Regions from separate parts of the Homo sapiens genome. Here region 2 is linked to region 1. The links are contacts of gene promoters, found by promoter capture Hi-C in blood cells and fetal thymus (Javierre and others, 2016). All regions are on one chromosome and are shown on one strand. Each heading gives the region's core, a stretch centred on a gene start or on the middle of the fragment in contact. The rest is flanking DNA. Distances are from core to core; before and after follow the strand shown. Region 1 holds the start of SGPL1 (sphingosine-1-phosphate lyase 1). Region 2 has its middle 21 kb from the start of PRF1.

Region 1 (7,241 bases), core at 1,461-3,960:
CAATGGATCAAAACTTAGTTTCTCTCTTCTTTAGCCCCCCTGCAGACCTTACAGGTTATGCCACTACGATGTCAGCACCCAGTATAAGGAAATCTCACTACCAGTTTTTGCCAGTTTCCCAGTGACGCCAACCCACCCTCTGGGATAGTGAGATAAAGAGAGAGAAATGAATTGTTTTTAAAGCACTGATTTTGCACTCAGAGAAGTGACAAAAACAAACAAACAAACAAACTTGGCTGGACACGGCGGCTCACGCCTGTAAGTAATCCCAGCACTTTGGGAGACCAAGGCAGGTGGATCACCTGAGGTTAGGAGTTTGAGACCAGCCTGGCTAACACGGCGAAACCCCATCTCTATTAAAAAACAAAAATTACCCAGGCATGGTGGTGTGCACCTATAATCCCAGCTACCCGGGAGGCTGAGGCAGGAGAATCGCTTGAACCCGGGAGGCAAAGGTTGCAATGAGCTGAGATTGTGCCATTGCACTCCAGCCTGGGAGACAAGAGCTAAACTCCATCTCAAAAACAAACAAACAAAACAAAACAAAACGAAACAAAAAAAACTAAACCCGGACACTTTTTCTATACCACCATTTCAAAGCTATAAACTCTCCATAATTCTCACACTAAGAAGTCCATAAGGAATCATAAAAGTCCCAAAAATAAAATGTCATTTTGGTAAACATGCATTTAGCAACGCTATTCTTCCCTGCTCAGTAAAACAGCACAGAAAGATCTCAGGAGGAGAGGAAACAGCTCTAAAGCAGGCATACCTCTCTGTCCAACAAAAGAACTTAAATTCATACTGGTTCAATCCAACAAGCATTTGTTAAGCACATACTATATTCAGAGCACCATGCTAGGTGTTTATTCATCTCTAAACAAAGAAGACATGATTATCTGCCTGTCGAGGAACCATAACTCTAATCTGGAAGACAAACACTCAGATAAACTAGTATATGGCAGACCCTGATAAAACGTAATAATAGAGGTTTCAAAACTGCTCTGGTAGTACGGGAAGGGAGGGATTAAAACTGCAAGAATTATGAAAAAGAAAGCCAGGAGAGGTGACCTGTGCTCCTAGTCCTAGCTACTCCAGAGGCTGAAGCAAGAGGATCACTTGAAGTGGGAGTTCCAGGCTACAGTGAGCTATGATTATGCCTGTAAATAGCCACTGCACTCCGGTCTGAGGAACATAGCAAGACCTTGTCTCATTTAAAAAAAATAATAATAATTTTGAAAAAGATTCTTCAATAATTTAAGTTCTACATATACTGTATTGATGTATTTAATTCAGCTATTTATTCATCCTGATCATTCATCCAAAATAAAAGGTGGTTGGCCAGGCGCGGTGGCTCACGCCTGGAATCCCAGCACTTCGGGAGGCCAAGGCGGGTGGATCACCACAGGTCAGGAGTTCAAGGCCAGCCTGGCCAACATGGAGAACCCCGTCTCTACTAAAAATACAAAAATTAGCCGGGCGTGGTGGCGTGCGCCTGTAATCCCAGCTACTCAGGAGGCTGAGGCAGGAGAATCGCTTGAACCCAGGAGGCAGAGGTGGCGGTGAGCCGAGATCATGCCACTGCACCCCAGTCTGGGCAACAGAGTGAGACTCCGTCTCCAAAAAAACAAAACAAAACAAAACAAAATAAAAGGTGGCAAAACGCTCAGCTACCAAAAGCAAGCATCAGAGGTGAAATCTACACACTGGGATCCTTTGGACTAAAAAAACGGAGACAAATGCCTTGGAACCAGGAGGATGTCTGCAAAAGGCTCACCAACATCAGAAGGTCTGTGCTAGGCATCTTCCTCTTCCAGCCTCCTCTCCGCGCTCCCCTTTTTCAGACTCTGTAAAAGGGAACCAGGTTTGTTTACTTCTAGAGCTTTAAACTGTCTCGCCAGCCCGCCTAGATTCGCCAGAGCAGCCAAGTTATGGTTCTCTCCCTCCTTTGAAGGCTCAGATTTCATTCCCAGATATCACAGTCCACCCCTAGCACCCCAGACCAGCGAATCAAAATCCTGCTGCAACTAGGTTTCCCTCCCACAGCTGATGAAACTAATCCAGACCCAGACTCCCACAAAGCATTCCACCCAGGTGGAAACTAGGGGAAACGCCCCGTCTGCGCGCGATCGGGGTGGGGAGCCCAGCCCAGGCCACCTAACCCGGGCTGAAGGTGCCGAGGCTACCAGGGTCCTGCCTCCTCCGCACTCCCTTCAGAATCAGCACGGCCTCGCTCTCGTTGTCACCCCTCCCGTCGGAGGACCAGCAAATCCTGGCCGCCCATGCCTACCCCGCGGCAGGCGTGGGCTCCAGACCCGCCCCACCGCGGCCCCGCGCCCGCCCGCCGTCCACTTGCTTGGACCTCAGCGGCTGGTGCCCACGCCTTCAGCCCGCCCCCGCCCCCGCCCCGGCCGCAGCCGCCCCGCCGCCTCTGCCCGCCCTCGGCCCACCCGGCCCCTGTCCTCTCCTCACCCCGCGGCGCCTCCGTCCCGACCCTCACCGCCCCCCGGAGCCCGCGGCGGCCCCTCCACCTCCTCACGCCGGAACCAGCTTCCAGTCTCCTTCCCTCGAGCACCCGGCCGGCTCCACCTCCTGCGTCTCCCTCAGCACGCGACGGACTCGCAGGCCGCGAGACCCAGGCTCCCCTGTTGCCGCCGCCGCCGCCGAGATTGGAGGCCCGGCAGCCGCCGGCCTCGCCCCTCCCGGAAATGGCTCCGGGGGCACCGGCCCGGCTCCCGGACCCTGGCGTGCGCGGCCCCGCTGCTACCAGCCGCGCGCACGCCCAGACCCGGGCCCCACGGCCTGTGCGCGCCGCCTACCGGCCAGGCAGCGGGCTGCACCCAGACCCTCCAGTGAATGTCTCAACCAGGCCGTCCTGGGGCGGCTGTGGTATCCCGACGGTCACCAACTTCTCTTCCAAACTGCCTTGGACAAAAAACTTTCTTGTCACATTTGGTCACTTGGAGCCTCCTGAGAGAGTAGGTCTGCAGGGCATTGTACAAACTAATCCAAAACAGCCACAGAGTTGGGTCTCTTTCCTGGGCCAGGGACTTCATTTTTCCATCGAGGTCAGTGGTGCCTGAAGAAAAGCAACAAGGAAACTTATTTAATGGAAATATCATCCTCATCCTCCCCTCCACCACTGCCCCCCCCCACCCCAAAAATAAAATGGAGAGCAGAGGCTACTCTGCCATCACTACTTTCATGAGCAGTGCTGGGAATCACCTTATACACAAGTGCAAGGGCCCACTGGGATCACAAAGGTCGCCTTCATTTCCAGATGAAAAAACTAAGTCTCAGCTGGGTGTAGTGGCTTACATCGGTAATCCCGGCACTTGGGGATGCTGAGGCGGGAGGGTTGTCTGAGCCCAGGAGCTCTAGATCAGCCTGAGCAACATAGTGAGACCCCCAACTCCAAAAAGAAAAAGAAAAAACTAAGTCTCACATAGGTTTCCCATGACTTGTCCAGGTTGTCATAACATTGCTTTAGTGGTAGCAGAAGGCAGTGCAGTTACATGGAACCAACTGGTCAGTGACCTGCATTCAAGATTTTTTTTCAATAGATTTTAAAATGACACCTAGATAGACTCTTGAAATCTCTCAAACAAAAATGACACTAATGAGGGTACCCAATTCCATCCCCTTGGAAAATGTTGCCATGACACTAAAATTAGGGCATCATCACTACCGTCATTATCCACATGTAGTGCTTTCAGGATGAAATGTACTATCACAGCTGCCCTCCTCTGCATACCCCATCGGCACTTCCCACTTCCCCAGCCATAATGGTTAAGGCCCTGAAAGACTATGAACAGGTTATCTTTAGGCCTCCTCACCCCCATTCCGTCAGAACTCCCAGACATTTCTACCATCCAGAGCCCCTGACTCAGGCATGAACACCCCCATACCCTTAGCCCCCTCACTACTATTCCCCAGCAGACATGCATTCTCAGTGTTTGAGGGTCAGAAAATGTTCTGGGGCCTCCTGCCAATGCCTACTCATCAAGAGTTGCTTTAGGGTTTCAGGTATGCCTTCCCATTCTCCATCTCCTACCCTTCTGCTTTAATTCTTCATCAGATCCCCCAGGAACTGCACACCTCCTCTCCATCTCCTTGTTAGTTACCACCCCCACATCCTTTAATCTAGAATCTGTGCACCCAGATGACTAGAGGGCAGGGTCACGTCTGATTCCTCCCTACACCCTAACACACAGTATGCAGTCTGCTCATTCTTCCCAGATGCTCAAACCAATGCAATCATATCGACTGATCCTTGCTTTGCCAAGAACTATGCTAGGCACCTTTACATACAAGCCTTATTTATGGCCTGACTTGCCCAGATCAGGTGACTCTTATCATCCCTCAACCTGTAAACAAGGACACCAAGACCAAAGAAGGAAATGATCCTCCCAAAGACACACAGGCAGGATGGGGTGGAGTTTGTGTGGGAGTTTGGAGGGGAAGCCAAGGGTTCAGAATTTGTAGCGGGGACCTCGAATATCCTTTTTGGTTAATTAGAATCAAAAAATGGTAGGGCTAGAGGGGTCTCCAGCTATTCGCCAGCTCCACCCCAGAGAATACACAAATACACGTGAAGAAACTGAGGTCCAGAGAGAGATGCGACTCCTAGCAGTTCCTGGCAGAGCCCAGCCTAGAACATGGGTCTGGGTTTGCAACTCTCTGAGCCGATGAAGCCCTGTGTGTGTGTGTGTGTGTGTGTGTGTGTGTGTGTGTGTGTGTGTGAGAGAGAGAGAGAGAGAGAAAGAGAGAGAGAAAGACTTCAGACCACCCTGCTCTCCTACCCCACACTCCCTCTGACAGCAGAATGACGTTAGCAGGCACATAGCTGGCTGGTCAGAGGCAGAGGAGGGCTATCTGGAACTTCCATTCTGAAAGTGTGGTTTCCCTGAGAGCAGCATTGGCTTTACCTGAGAGCTTGTTATAAATACAGGTTCTTGGGGCCCCACTCCAGACCTCCTGAATCAGAATCTACAGCTTAACAAGGTCCCCAGATGATCTTAATGCACAAGAAAGTAAAAAGCACTTCCCTAGACACTCTGTTTGCAGAGAAAGCACAATTTTTGTTTGCTTATTTAGAAACATGGTCTCAATAATGTTGCCCAGGCTGGAGTGTAGTGGCTATTTACAGCCATTATCATAGCTCACTACAGCCTCAAACTCCTGGGCTCGAGCGATCCTCCTGTCTCAGCCTCCTGAGTAGCTGTGTCTACAGACACATGGCACTTTGCCCGGATAGAAGGCACGATAGTTGTATTAAGCGTGTGGGTTGTTTGGGATGGCTTAAGGAGGCTGATGAAGAACGTGTTTGTTTGGGGCTGGGGAGGGAACCAATGCTCCCCAGTTGTCCTTTGGTACCATCATGGTGCCTTCCAGGATGACAAAAGATTGTCATTCAGGTGTCAGTGAGGCACTGAAATTCCCGCAGATGACGGAAGGCTTGGGACGGGGGAGGGAGGTGTGGAGCAAGATGGTCTGGGATTTTTTCCCTCTGTGGCTTCTTTAATTTAGGCTAGGAGGATCTCCCTGCAGTGCTTGTGCCTGCCATCATTTAAACAATTCATGCCAGCAAATCTGGTTCTGCTTAAAATGGCAGCCATCCATGGCCAAGTTAATGACAGCCTCCCACTCATGCATGAGTGCACACTCCCACTCTAAAAAGCAGGCGCACACACTCTCCTGCCTCCATTCTTGCTCCTGACACCCCTTGCTCAGCCGGGGACCTTCTTGAGAAGCTCACCTCAGGACAGGGGTGTGGGCAGATCTTAGGAGGGTTGCAGCCTCTAGGCCCATCCTGGAAAGGAATGGCCCACAGGAAACCAACAAACAGTTCCTAGAGCCCAGAATGCCCAAGAAGAGGCAGGAAACCAGCACATAGCTCCAGCAGCAGGCTCAGCTGATCACAGCAGAGCTGGCCACCAGGGGAGGAGAGGCCAAGGGCCAGACAGACATGGGAGCCCCCACAGCAGGGACCAAATGCCCCGACATTGCCAACTGGAGTGAGCAAGGGGCAGCAAGTCACCGAGTTATCATGGGCCCCCTGACCTCACTCAGGTACATACCCCAGTTGCCAGTTTGATCAAAGTCAGAGTGGCCAAGCCCTCAGAGAGCCAAGAGTTATTTCCCAAGGAAACCTCATCTTTCGTAAAGAAGCCCACTGATAGGGTTTGACTCTGTGTCCCCACCCAAATCTCATCTCAAATCATAATTCCCATGTGTCGAGGGAGGGAGGGTGATTGGATCATGGGGGTGGTTTCCCCCATGCTGTTCTCATGGCACTGAGTGATTCTCATGAGATTTGATGGTTTTATGAGTGTCTGGAAGTTCTTCCTTCGTTCTTCTCTCTGCTGCTGCCTTGTGAAGAAGGGGCTTACTTCCCCTTCACCATCCGCCATGATTGTAAGTCTTCTGAGCCCTCCCCAAGCCGTGTGGAACTGTGAGTCAGTTAAACCTCTTTCCTTTATAAATGCCCCAGTCTCAGGGAAGTTCTTAATAGCAGTGTGAAACGGACTAATACACCCACCATTGTTGCTATCCAGGCTGCACAGTCACTCCTAGCAAAACATTAAAAACTGAGAGCAGCTGTTTCTCAAACACTGAATAAATATAAACTTCCTTTGACAAAATAGCTTTGAAGGCAGGGAGACAGGTCTCTACCCAGGAATCATTGTGTGGCCTCAAAATAGCTTTGAAGGCAGGGAGACAGCTTTCTACCCAGGAATCATTGTGTGGCCTCCAGCAAGTTGTTGTAACTGTCCAAGCCTGGGCTTCCTCCTTTGTAAAGCAAGAATTAACAACTACCCTAAGACTGCTGTGGCAATTGTAAGAGATGTATGTGTGTGCCCATCACATATGAGGCCTGATCCACCATAAGCACTCAATAATTATTACTATTATTATTATTATTAATTTATAAAGACAATGCCTCACTATGTTGCCTAGGCTGCTCCTGGGCTCCAGTGATTCTCCCACCTTAGCCTCCCAAAGTGCTGGGATTACAGGTGTGAGCCACCGCGCCCGGCCAAGAATTATTGGTCTAACACCCTCCGCATACATCCAGGGTGTACTCAAATAAGATTCCAATCTGAGCCGTGTGATTGACTAAGCCCAGCCTAGCCCTCTCACATTGTTGCTGGAAGCTGGTTTCGATCCCCATCAGGACCTGATCCTAACAAGTTGATTAGTCCTTCCAACGTGCCCCTTGCCCTCTCTAGGGCATGCTA
Region 2 (6,318 bases), core at 2,404-4,903, 190 kb after region 1:
CATTAACTTTTGCTCTTCTCTTTAGTATTTCCTTCCTCCACTGTTTGGATTTAATCTGTTGTCCTCTTTTAAACATCTTTAGATGTATACTTTGATTATTGATATTGTAAGGGAGGAAAAATAATTTTCTCTCTATTGTTTATTGAGGAAAAAAAGCCAAACTCTGTAAATATTTTAAAAGGTTTATTCTAAGTCATTATGAGTGAACATGGCCCGGAAAAGTCTCAAGAGGTTCTGAGAAGGTGTGCCCAAAGTAGTCAAGTAATAGTTTTTCTCACACGCATCCGTGTGAAGAGATCACCAAACAGGCTTTGTGTGAGCAATAAAGGTTTTTAATCATCTGGGTGTAGACGAGCTGAGTCCAAAAAGAGAGTCAGTGAAGGGAGATACGGGTGGGGCCGTTTTATAGAATTTGGGTAGGTAGTGGAAAATTACAGTCAAAGGGGGTTGTTCTTTGGTGGGCAGGGGCAGGGGACATAAGGTGCCCAGTGGAGGAGCTTCTGAGCCAGGAAAAGGAATTTCACAAGGTAGTGTCATCAGTTAAGGCAGGAACCGGCCATTTTCATTTCTTCTGTGATTCTTCACTTGCTTCAGGCCATCTGGATGTATATGTGCAGGCTTGGGCTCAGAGGCCTGACAGTTTTGTTTTATACATTTTGTGGGGGACAGAAGTTACAAGCAAAGACATAAATCAATACATAGAAGATGTACATTGGTTCAGCCCAGAAAGGCAGGACATTTTAAAGGAGGGACTTACAGGTATAGGTGGATTCAAAGATTTTCTGATTAGCAATTAGTTGAAAGACTTAAGCTTTGTCTAAAAATCTGAAGTCAGTAGAAAGAAATGCTTGAGTTAAGGGGGATTGTGGAAGCCAAGGTTCTTGTTATGCAGATGAAGCCTCCAGGTAGCAGGCTTCCTGAAAAGATGGCTTTGAAGGACTCTTTTAAAATATGTCAAATAATTATATTTTAGACTAAAATATTTTTATTTCCTTCAGGGTCTGCTATCTGTCATGTGATGTTATCCCAGAGTCAGGCTGGAATTTGCTACAAATAATCTGTTTTGTCAGCTTTATGATCTCTATTTTATGTTAATGCTGGTCAGTTGTTCCTAAACTCTTAAAAGGGAGGAGGTATAAAAAGGTGTGTCTGACCTCCCTTACTGTCATGGCCTAGAGTTGAGTTTTTCAGGTTTCCCTAGGATCCCCTTGGCCAAAAGGGTTCATTCAGTCTACTGGGGGACTTAGGATTTTTTTTCTTTGAGACAGAGTCTCACTCTGTCACCCAGGCTGGAGTGTAATGGTGCGATCTCGGCTTACTGCAGCCTCCACCTCCTGCGCTCAAGCGATCCTCCCACCTCAGCCCCACAAGTAGCTGGGACTACAGACACATGCCATCATGCCCAGTTGTTTTTTGTTTTTGTTTTTGTTTTTGTTTTTGGTAGAGACAGGGTTTCATGTTGCCCAGGCTGGTCTTAAACTCCTGAGCTCAGGTGATCCACCCATCTTGGCCTTCCAAAAGGCTAGGATTACAGGCATAAGCCACCATGCCCAGCTTTTAGGATTTTATTTTGGTTTACACCTTCATAGTTCTTAGTTAGGACAGATCCCTGGAACAAAAGAGTGACAAGAGAATAACAAACAGAAGTTTAATAACACATATACTTTATGCATATAAAACCATCCTTTCAGGGTTAACAAGAAATACATGCAGTGTTCTGGGCAGAAATATACTCATTATTAAGCATTAGGAGCACTAAGCAGGCTGCACTTTGGCCCACTTCTTTGTAATTTATCTTTTTTTTTATTTTTATCTATTTTTTTTTTTTTTTGAGACAGAGTTTCACTCCTGTTGCCCAGGCTGGAGTGCAATGGCGCGATCTCGGCTCACTGCAACCTCCGCCTCCCAGGTTCAAGCGATTCTCCTGCCTCAGCCTCCCCAGTAGCTGGGATTACAGGCATGTGCCACCACGCCCAGCTAATTTTGTATTTTTAGTAGAGACGGGGTTTCTCCATGTTGGTCAGGCTGGTCTCGAACTCCCGACCTTATGTGATCCGCCCGCCTCGGCCTCCCAAAGTGCTGGGATTACACGAGCCACTGAGCCCGGCACTTCTTTTAATTTAAAGTCACGTAGCACTAGATCCCCACCATCTGCATTCCCACTGTTCCTACAGATAGGATCTCTGACACCTAAGGCTTTTGTTTAAGAATTACTTAAGATGGCCGGGCGCGGTGGCTCATGCCTGTAATCCCAGCACTTTGGGAGGCCGAGGCGGGCAGATCACGAGGTCAGGAGATGGAGACCAGCCTGGTGAACACAGTGAAACCCCGTCTCTACTAAAAATACAAAAAATTAGCCGGGCGTGTTGGCAGGCACCTGTAGTTCCCAGCTACTCGGGAGGCTGAGGCAGGAGAATGGCGTGAACCCGGGAGGCGGAGCTTGCAGTGAGCCGAGATCACATCACTGCGCTCCAGCCTGGGTGACAAAGTGAGACTCCGTCTCAAAAAAAAAAAAAAAAAAAAAAAAGAATTACTTAAGATGTTTTCAGATCCTGAATTCCAGCTGAACAGCTGATGCCCATCAGCTTGAAGACTCCCACAGAGGAGCTGAATCAACATGAGAATGCAGTTTCTTCATCTCCCCATCCCAGGATTTCACGCTGCACTCTTTGACCAATCAACAATCTCCACACCTTGGCCACTCCAAACTCCTTAAAATCTCTAACCCCCAACTCCTCTGGGAGGCAGATTTGAAGTTTCCTCTTGCCTCCTTGCTGGGCAGCCCTATGATTAAAACTTTTTCTCTGATGCAACTCTCAGTGTTGATGTATTGACTTACCATGTATACTGCAACAGACTTGTTTATGGTCAAACATACATAAGATACCTAGAGTAAATGAGTAAATCTCAAAGAGATGGCTCTGAGTTCAGGCTTAGATATAATCTTCAGCTAAAACAAAAATACAAGGGTGTGAAGAAGGCCAGCTGTGGGGAGATGCCCAAGAAAATCTCAAGCCGGGTGCAGTGGCTCATGCCTGTAATCCCAGCAATTTGGGAGGCCAAGGCAGGCGGATCACTTGAGGCCAGGAGTTTGAGACCAGCCTGGGCAACATGGTGAAACCCCATCTCTACTAAAATTACAAAAATTAGCTGGGCATGGTGGTACATGCCTGTAATCCCAGCTGAGGCAGGAGACTTGCTTGAACCCAGTGGGTGGAAGTTGCAGTGAGCCTAGATCATGCCACTGCACTCCAGCTTAGGTAAACAAAGTGAGACCCTATCTCAAAAAAAAAAAAAAAAAAAAAAGAAAAGAAAAGAAAATAGGATAAGGTTTGTTAGGCAGATTTAAGTTGATACCTTCTCCACTGATAAGAGTTTCCAGTGATTTAACATCATTCTTCTCTTTCTGGTACTGAGCAGGAAACATCTTTACAAATGGAGATTTCCTTTATGGCTTTTAATTTCCCTTATAAAAGGGTAATTTTTACTGTGTTTTCAGAGCTTCTCCTATGTCTGCAGTTTCTCAAAATTTTAAGGGATCTCTAGGGTGTTGACTTTTCTGGCCAGAAACCTCTGTGGCCACAGCACTATTGCCCAAGTTCTTGTCCTGTATCCAAAAGAATGAGGTATGCAGACAAGTGAAGGGTGAAGAAGAGTTTTATTTAGTGTTAGAACAGCTTAGAGGAATGGGTAGCTCCTCTCTGTAGGCAGGTCATCCCATCCAGTGTTCAGCTCTCCACAAAAAGGAGGCCCTGGAGAGGATAACTCCTCTCTGCAGGCAGGTCATTTGGACATTTCTGCAGGTCTCTGCAGCTATCAGCAGAGAAAGTACTCCTCTTTGCAGGTGGTCCTCCCATCATCTCCGCCCTCTTCGTCCTGTGCCCCACTCTGGCTGAGCCCTGGGCTTTTATGGGCCTTGGAGGGAAGGAAGTACATGCCAGTTGGTCCCTGGGTGGCCATGGGAGGCCCAGAAGAGGCACCACAAGTCCCCCCACCAGTCTGCCAATCTGCAGGACTGGCAGCCCGGTCCCCAGCCTTCAGACCTTCCCTGGCCTGAAGGTGTGGCCTTACTGGGGACCTGCCTCCTTCCACCCAAAAATCAATTTGCCTCCCACTGCCATTCATGGCCCCTGGGCTTGGCCCCAACACCCCCTCCAAGATCAGAGGAGGCACCATGAGTGAAGAGAAGCCAGGCAGTGGGAAAAGACACCTCTGAGCTTGGAGGGATGGAGGAGTGTCCTTCCTAAGGCCACTGAGGGTGCAGGCTGCAGAGACACCAGCTCCTGCACCTGGGAGGGCGGTCACAGCCACACCCAGGAGGGCAGATCCTGCCTGCTCCCAGACCTCCTCAAAGAGCACAGCTGCAATTTGGACGGCTGTAGCCCCACCCAGGAGGGTGAGTCTCCTGTGTGCTCTGTAGAGCAGGAGGCCTGGGTCTGAAGCTGCTGGTTGGGCAGTTGCAGCAGCACCCAGAGAGCTCTCCTCCCAACTCCCACCAGCTTTATGGAGTGTGCAGCCAAAGCCGTGCCTCCCTGCTGCAGCCAGCATGATGGCAGCAGCCACTGCCATCAAAAATACTCAGCTCGGCCAGGCGTAGTGATTCACATTTGTAATCCCAGCACTTTGGGAGGCTGAGACAAGCAGATCACGAGGTCAGGAGATCGAGGCCATCCTGGCTAATATGGTGAAACCCCGTCTCTACTAAAAATACAAAAAAAAAAAAAAAATTAGCCAGCCATGGTGGCAGGTGCCTGTAGTCCCAGCTACTCAGGAGGCTGAGGCAGGAGAATGATGTGAACCTGGGAGGCGGAGCTTGCAGTGAGCGGAGATCGCACCACTGCACTCCAGCATGGGCAACAGAGTGAGACTCTGTCTCAAAAATAAATAAATAATAATAATCAGCTCAAAATCATTCTTATGCCAGAGGCATATTTTGGAGTGGCATATTCTGATCTGCTAAAACCATATTTTAGAGTAACATATTTTGTTTTTTTACAATATTAAATCTTTCTCCTTTTCTGAAATGTGCATTTATGACCATAAACTTCCCTCTAAACATAATATTAGTTGCATCCCATGTATTTTAGTGTATCATATTTTTATCATTCAGTTAAAAGTATTTTCTGACTTATTCTTTGATTTGGAACTTATTTTGAAGGATATTGGTGTTAGAAGAAAAGTTTTAGACAAATTAAATTTAACAGAGTTTAATTGAGCAAAGAACATTTCACAAATTGGGCAGTCCCTAGAACCAGAAGAGGTTCAAAGTGACTCTGGTGGTTGGAAAGGATTTATGGACAGAAAAGGGAAAGTGAAATACAGAAAACAGAAGTGAGACGCAGGAACAGCCAGATTAGTTGCTTGGCAGCCAATCCAAAAGGCAACTAAGCGTTTGCCTTATCTGAGCATGGTTTGAACCATTGGCTGCCTGTAAGTGGTTGAAATATGACTGCTGTGATTGGCTAAGACCTACTTGTTACAAGAGTAGGTTACAAGGCCTGGCATGGTCGCCCACACCTATAATCCTAGCACTTTGGGAGGCCAAGGCGGGTGGATCACCTGAGGTCAGGAGTTCAAGACCAGCCTGGACAACATGGTGAAACCCCATGTCTACTAAAAATACAAAAATTAGCTGGGCATGGTGGTGCGCACCTAATCCCAGCTACTTGCGAGGCCGAGGCACAAGAATCACTTGAACCTGGGAGGTGGAGGTTGCAGTGAGCCAAGATTGTGCCATTGCACTCCAGCCTAGGTGACACAGTGAGACTCTCTGTCAAAAAAATAAAATAAAATAAAAGAGTAGGTTATAGTCTGTTTACACATCCAGTTAGGTTACAGTTCATTACTTACTGAGAAACCTTTAGGCCAAACTTGAACTATGTAAGGAGGCAGCTTTAGGCTAAATGTAATTTAACCCTTGTATATTTTCAAACATTTTGATTTTTTGTTTGTTTGTTTTTTTGTTCTTGTTATTGATTTCTTGCTTAATCCACTGAGTAACATTCTCTGTAAATTTTTAATCCATTGAAATGTTTTGAGATATTTTATGGCCCAGTAAATTGCCAATTTAGGTAAATGTTCAGTACGCACTTGAAAAAAAGACATATTTCTTTTGTAAACCAAAAACAAAATCCTAAGCTACCCAACTGATTGAATGGACTCCCTCTGGGCCAAGGAAAACCTGAAAAAATGAATTCCAAATCATGATGGGAAGGGAAGTTGGAGAGGCCTCATTATGCCCCCTCCCTTTTGGAGTTTAGGCACAACTGGCCAGCATTAATATTAAAAGAGAGATCATAAGACCGACAAAACAGACTC

Evidence for each region. Contacts are between HindIII fragments. The CHiCAGO score rates a contact against its expected background, and 5 or more counts as called.
Region 2: a contact is called between a fragment that was not itself captured here and the fragment with the promoter of SGPL1 in region 1, in 1 of 17 cell types (M2 macrophages). The highest score is 5.6, in M2 macrophages.

What each region holds. Positions count from the first base shown.
Region 1 is chr10:70,811,417-70,818,657 of GRCh38, reverse strand. It overlaps SGPL1 (sphingosine-1-phosphate lyase 1), which reads right to left and starts at 2,710. Exons shown (of 15, transcript NM_003901.4): 1 at 2,532-2,710; 2 at 1,778-1,847. The coding sequence starts at 1,804. RefSeq lists silencers at 2,295-2,404, 2,485-2,574, 2,595-2,914. The HindIII fragment of the contact is 12,143 bases long and covers 1-7,241 here.
Region 2 is chr10:70,620,755-70,627,072 of GRCh38, reverse strand. No RefSeq gene overlaps it. Among named protein-coding and RNA genes, the nearest start is that of PRF1, 21 kb to the right of the region's middle. RefSeq lists an enhancer at 1,197-1,786. The HindIII fragment of the contact is 5,679 bases long and covers 814-6,318 here.